Regions from separate parts of the Homo sapiens genome. Here region 1 is linked to region 2. The links are contacts of gene promoters, found by promoter capture Hi-C in blood cells and fetal thymus (Javierre and others, 2016). All regions are on one chromosome and are shown on one strand. Each heading gives the region's core, a stretch centred on a gene start or on the middle of the fragment in contact. The rest is flanking DNA. Distances are from core to core; before and after follow the strand shown. Region 1 holds the start of HMSD (histocompatibility minor serpin domain containing). Region 2 holds the start of TMX3 (thioredoxin related transmembrane protein 3).

What was found. The method cuts DNA at HindIII sites, captures the fragments that hold promoters and counts their contacts. A CHiCAGO score of 5 or more calls a contact.
Region 1: the fragment with the promoter of HMSD here is called in contact with the fragment with the promoter of TMX3 in region 2 in 1 of 17 cell types (total B cells); the score reaches 5.8 in total B cells.

The regions. Positions count from the first base shown.
Region 1 is chr18:63,947,849-63,950,972 of GRCh38, reverse strand. It overlaps HMSD (histocompatibility minor serpin domain containing), which reads right to left and starts at 1,672. Exons shown (of 4, transcript NM_001123366.2): 1 at 1,573-1,672. RefSeq lists a silencer at 1,605-1,834. The HindIII fragment of the contact is 6,685 bases long and covers 1-3,124 here.
Region 2 is chr18:68,713,471-68,716,827 of GRCh38, reverse strand. TMX3 (thioredoxin related transmembrane protein 3) reads left to right here and starts at 1,720. Exons shown (of 16, transcript NM_019022.5): 1 at 1,720-1,892; 2 at 2,928-2,982. The coding sequence starts at 1,847. It also overlaps a transcript of CCDC102B not described here. RefSeq lists an enhancer at 1,393-1,462 and silencers at 1,663-1,792, 1,973-2,072. The HindIII fragment of the contact is 941 bases long and covers 1,240-2,180 here.

The DNA of each region.
Region 1 (3,124 bases), core at 423-2,922, 4.8 Mb after region 2:
TTTATATTTCCTAGGGTGATGGTAATGCTTATTTTAATACTTTTCTGGGGTTAAATTAATAACAGACCATCTCCTATTCACAAAAACAATAGGATGGGGCTGCCAGATTGATGGTTGGGACATGGGCTCTGACTGACCTGACACTGCTACTTTTCAGGTCATACTGCTTTTTAAAGCCAAACAAATGTAAGGACCATTTTGCAGTTTGGTCCTACATTGGGATTTTGCAAAGACAACTATTAAATTTGCTTTTTTCTTTTTTTTGCCAAATGCCTTTCCTTGAAATGAAATACTATTTGAGGTTCTCGTGCATCTGATTTGCGTAACACAGAGTTCTATCCACAAGTTGGCTTTCAAAGTCTCCTGGTTTAATATTTAGGCCTTCAGGTTGGTTTTTGTAACCACTGTGCCTGTCAACCTAGGTGCCTATAGTCACTATTCCTACACAGCAGTCGTATATGAATCATCACACAGCATTTCTTGTAAACATTATTGAAATTATTTCCTGCCTCCTTTAAACTCATCTTACATTTTTTTTTTTTTTTTTTTTTTTTTTTGAGAGAGAGTCTCGCTTTGTCCCTCAGGCTGGAGTGCAGTGGTGCAATCTTGGCTCACTGCAACCTCTGCCTCCCAGGTTCAAGCGATTCTTCTGCCTCAGCCTCCTGAGTAGCTGGGACTACAGGCCCATGTCACGACACCCGGCTAATTTTTGTATTTTTAGTAGAGACTGGGTTTCACCATATTGGCCAGGCTGGGTCTCGAACTCCTGACCTCGTGATCCGCCCCCCTCAGCCTCCCAAAGTGCTGGGATTACAAGCGTGAGCCACCGCGCCTGGCCCATTTTACTTGTTTTATCTGAATTTACTAAAGGACTCTTTCTTGGCTTTGTTGTAACATGTATTTCAATTAACACATACTGGTTTTTGTTCTTGAGCAAATTCTCACAACTTGTCTACTGGGAATCTCTGTAAATTGGTTACTTTCTTTTTACACTATCCCAACACTTTTGCTTTCTGGCAACAGTATCGTCCTCATTTTGATTTTTTTCCAGTCCAAAAACATACTATCAACGCCTCTCCTGGTTTCTTTTAAAGGAGGAGGAATGTCAAGTACAAATTCTGAATACTGAGAGCATACGAGTTTCGGTACCGACAAATAAATACTGCTGCTGTTGTTTTTCCTGGAGGTCCCAGGCCTCACAGCCCCTTCCAGCGCCCAACATAAACTTCACCAGGGTGGGAGGCCTCATTGTACCTACTTCCAGCTCCTGCAGGATGAGTGGAGCCCAGGCAGGACTTTCACCCCCCAGCTCCGCGCCCATTCGCCCTGGCCTCCCCTCCCCGCGCCTGGACCCATAGGGCACACAGCCAAGTGCAGCCAAGTCCCTGCCCTTAGGGAGCCCCCGCCAGAGACCGAGTAAAGAAGGACAGCCCCAGGGAAAGGTCTGGAGCAACAGGTGCGCTGAGCACTTCACTGGGCTTCCCTTTCGTAGGTTCCCGCCCTTTTCCTGGGCTCAAGAGCAGGTAACGAGAATCCAGCGTGTGGGAACCACTCCCAAAGTCAAACACCTACCCCAGTTCTCCGCGCAGCTGCCCAGGAGCGAAGTGAGACCGGGTCGGAGAGGCGGGAATAGAGATGTCTGAGCGGCGCCGGGTGTTAGTTCCCAGTGAATGGGGAGGCGGGCGGAGTCGGGCCCAGCCAGGCACCACCTAGCGGGCGCCTGGGCAGGAGGGCGGGGCGGGTCCCGCAGGCCGCGGGGATCTCCTGATGTGCAGGAAGTGGCCAATCTCTGTGCAGGAAAAAGCCCCAACTGTCCGGGAGTTTTCAGTCAAGAAGCGATAATGCGCTTTGGCTATTTGGGGTTTTTCGTGGTTCCATACAAATTATAGGGTTTTTTTTTTTTTCTATTTCTGTGAAGAATGACATTGGTATTTTGACAGGGATTGCATTCAATCTGTAAATTGTTTGGGTAGCATTGTACTTTTAACATTAATTATTCCAACCTATGAGCATGAATATGTGTCCATTTTCTGTGTGTGTTCTTCACGTTTTTCTCATCAGTGTTTTATAGTTGTCCTTGTAGAAGTCTTTCACTTTTTTAATTAAATTGATTACTAGGTATTTTATACATCATATTTCTTATAGCTATTGTAAGTGGGATTTCTTTCTTGATTTCTTTTTCAGACTGTTCACTGTAGATGTATAGACATCTTACGGATATTTTATATCCATTTTGTATTCTGCAACTTTACTGATTCATTTATTAGTTCTAGTAGTTTTTGAGGGGAGTCTTTTGGTTTTTCCGATTATAAGATTATACCATTGGTGAGCAAAGCTAATTTTACATCTTTCTTTCCAGTTTGGGTGTCCTTTGTTTCTTTTTCTTGCCTAATTGCCCCGGCCAGGACTTCCAGTCAGATACTGAATAAAGGGGGTGAAACTGGGCATCCTTGTCTTGTTGCAGATCTTATAGGAAAGGTTTTCAATTTTTCCCTGTTCAGTATGATATTAGCAGTGGGTTTTTCATTTTGGTTTTTATTGTTTTGAGGTATATTCCTTCTATACCCAATGTGTTAAGGATTTTTATCATAAAGAGATGTAGGATTTTACTGAATACATTTTCGGCATCTATTGAAATGATCGTGCAGTTTTTGTTGTTGGTTCTTTTAATGCAATGTATCGCATTTATTGATTTGTGTATATTGAATCATACTTGCATACCCGGGTGAATCTCACTTGATCGTGGTGAGTGATCTGTTTAATGTGTTGTTGAATTGGAGTTGCTAGCAATTTTTTGAGGATTTTTTCTGTTTTTTACCTGTTGATATGACGGATTCCTTTGATTTTCAAATGTTGAATTAGTCTTGTACACCTGCAATCAATCTTACTTAGTCACAATGTATAATCCAACTATTTTACACATAGTTTGATTTCATTTGTGAATATGTTGTTCAGGATTTTGCATCTATACTAATGAAAGATATTGGTCTTTAAGTTTCTTTTCTTCTAATGTCTTTGTCTGGTTTTGTTATCAGAGTAATTCCAGCCCTATAGAATGAATTAGAAAGTAGTTCTTCTGCTTCTATCTTCTGAAAGAGATTTAGAGAATTGGAGTAAACGTTTT
Region 2 (3,357 bases), core at 471-2,970:
GGATTACAGGTGTAAGCCACCGCGCCAGGCCACATCTGGCTAATTTTTTAATTTTTTGTACAGATGGGGTCTCACTGTGTTGACCAGGCTGGTCTCAGACGCCTCACCTCAAGCAATCCTCCTGCCTCAGCCTCCCAAAGTGCTGGGATAATAGGCATGAGCCACCCATGCCTGGGACTTGATCAGTATTTAGATTTCATAAAATTTACAGTTGAAAAAGTAGATTCACATACCTCAGTTGTTCCAACCACATTAAAAAAACTTTCCAATAGCTGAATCGAGTGTCAGTTTTTGAGTTTACTGAAATTAAAAAAAATAAATATTCAGTTATTTCATCACACTAGGCACATTTCAAAAGCTCAATAGCCACATGTGGTTAGTGGCTACACTACTGAAAAGCACAGATCTAGGTCAACTGGCTTTTGTTGTTGTCCACATGTGAACTTAAACTGTAACGCAAATATAAGAGGAAATTATTTCACTTTGCATGCTGTGGAAGACAGAAAACTTTGAAATACATGAGAATGAAAAAAAAAAATTGAATATGGGTCATTCAGAGACCTTGCCAAGAAAGTAGAAAAGCTTCTGTATAAGAGTATCGAGGCGATGGTACTATTATAAAGCTGTTCCACCACCACCGGGAGAACATTCCCATCATTTCAACAGTCCCCTTACGTTTTAGTCTACTTTTTTCTTAAAAAAAAAAGAAAAAAAGGAAAAGAGAAAGAAAAAGAAAAATTGAATCTGTAGAGGGCTTGCGCTGGATACCATGCTGCATGCACAAAGGGGGTGACATTTAGGGCTTGCTCTCAATTAGAGTGCAATTTAATCTTCTAGTCACTAGGAATAACGACGTTTTATGACATTTTTGCCTGTTGGAATTTTGAACCTAAGGTGAACCGGCTGACATCATATCCCCCTTCTGTTGTTGTCACAGGTTTTCAAAATTTGGTTTGATCTAAATTCTCTGGTACCTTATGTCCCATAAAAATTTCATCTAGTTCGTAAGTAGTGATTGCTGCAGTAACCGTCTTATAAAAGTATATGGTTTTTACAAATCATTGTCGTATAGAAGAAAAAACAGGTAGCAATATAAATATTTCATACTACTTTATCTAGTTCCAAAATAATCAGAAAAGAGCCATCAAAAAATATCCTACGCTTAACTTCATGTTCTCAAGTTTCAAGAGAAAGTTTTTAAAGAGGCAATCCTTACTTTGGCAAAAATGCATTAAAGCTTGCTGCATTTAAGAGATGTCCCATTATGCAAACAGGTTGAAAGAATATTACAAATACGTTTTGGAAAAATACGGAGTGTCGCGCAGCTCAGCAATCCGCAGTCTTAATGCGCGCCTCTTTCCAGGAATTTGATCCAGCATCAAAACCCACAGGTGCACTCACCACACGGGAGTAACAAGTAAATGATGTGCCAGTATTCAACCTGCAAGTGCGTCGTCAGAGCCTACCTCACCCTCAGCATAACTTTCACCGGTATTCACCTTCCCGGAAACGCGCCCCAGTGAACCAGCACCGTTTTCCCTAGTAAAGCCCTTAAGCAGGGTTCCCACGCTCCTGGGCGTGGAGGGGGGCACCGAGAGCGCAAAGGATTCTTAAGACATGACTGCGCAGGCGCTGTCGCATGCGCCGCACTCCCCTCGCATGCGCCGCACTCCCGCGCATAGCCGGAGACGGAGACTGGCCGGGTAGCCCCGCCCCCGTAGTTAGCGCGGTGCTTCTCTTCCGCTCCGGGTCGGCTCCGTTTCCCTTTCCGGGCGGGCAGGCGGCGGACCCCAGTGTCTTTATCCCTCTTTTGCACAGTCAGCTTCTGCAGCTCTCCCGGGCTAGCATGGCAGCGTGGAAGAGTTGGACGGCCCTGCGGCTCTGCGCCACAGGTAATGGGGGCTCAGCGGTCGGGACGCTGGCGGGCGCGTGGGACCTGGCCCCGCCGTGGGGCCGGGATTGGACCCGGGTCTGGGGCGAGGCCTGCGGGGTTCGTGGAGATGCCCACCCATTCCCGGCAGCGTCCTGCCGCCCCCGCCGCGCCACCCTGCCTGGCCCTGACGGAGCGGACACCTTGGGGTCCTTCCGCCGCCGCTGTGCCGGACCAATGCTGGACGTGGGAAGGGCGCGCTGCCTTGTGTTTGTGTTTTTCTCATTGTGGCAGAAGTTTCAATAAAGCTTACTCCTTTGATGGGCAAGAAGGATGCCGCCGTCCCAGCTTAACGACCAAATCTTGCCTTGGCTTTAGGTTCCGAGTCTTGTCACGTTTAAGGATTTTTACCACCAGTACTCAAGAGAGGGTGGTCGAGGACAGATCAGGGTCAGGCCGCCGGGATTGTGCGGTGTGAAAAGGACCTGAGTGTGTGTCAGCGGTTCTCAGCTGCCTCCCGTCAGCATGGAGTGCCCTCATTCTCACTGGGGTCCGCTCACTTAACAACCTTTTAGAGCCCACTCTGTGTCAGGCACTGCCGTGTAATAAGTATTAGAGTTGCAGCTCGACTTTCTTCCTACGTATCTATTTGAGGGGAAATATTTTGAATGGCATTTGGAGTTTTTACGGAAGAGGTAATTGCTACTAAAGCAAAAGAAATAAAGAAGAATGCTGTCTATTTGTATTCCAAAAAGATAGGATGGTTAAAAAGAGACGTAAGATGAGAGTGAAAATATGGAGGAAAAAGGAACTGTGTGTATTAGATTTATTGGCTTACCTAGAACTTGGCCGGTCACGATATGGTTGCATACAGACTAAATATTTATTAAATGGATGAACTACCTTTGCTTTTGCATCATTTGCACCCTGGGATGCATCAGTGATGAATTTTTTGGTAGGTTGTGAAAGGTCAAAAACACTTCAGAGATGACTAAGCTTATACGGTATGAGCCAAATAATCAGCATTTATTGTGTACATTTTGTCTTTTTTTTTCAGTTGTTGTACTTGATATGGTCGTCTGTAAAGGATTTGTAGAAGATTTAGATGAATCGTGAGTATACATATATATATTTAAAATATTATTTTAACTGTCCAACTCAGATATCTGAATATTTGCATGTGATTCTAATATTTTAGATTGGAACCAATTTTTATATATCACTCATTTTTTTCACTTGTTGTAAGTGAAGGTGAGGGTGTGCCCAGAAGAGTTTTATTAATAGTTATGAGATCAAAAAACTGTGGCAAACTTTTACATATTCTTTTTTTCCTCATTATCTTACCTTGTATTTATGTCTTTTTCCTTTAATTATATTGAATGGGTGTTAGAATTTGGTAACTGTACTGTATTTATCTTCATAGTATGACAGCATTAATCAGCCTTGCTTATAGTAAGTGAGGAGGTTCACTTCAGACCCAAATTCCT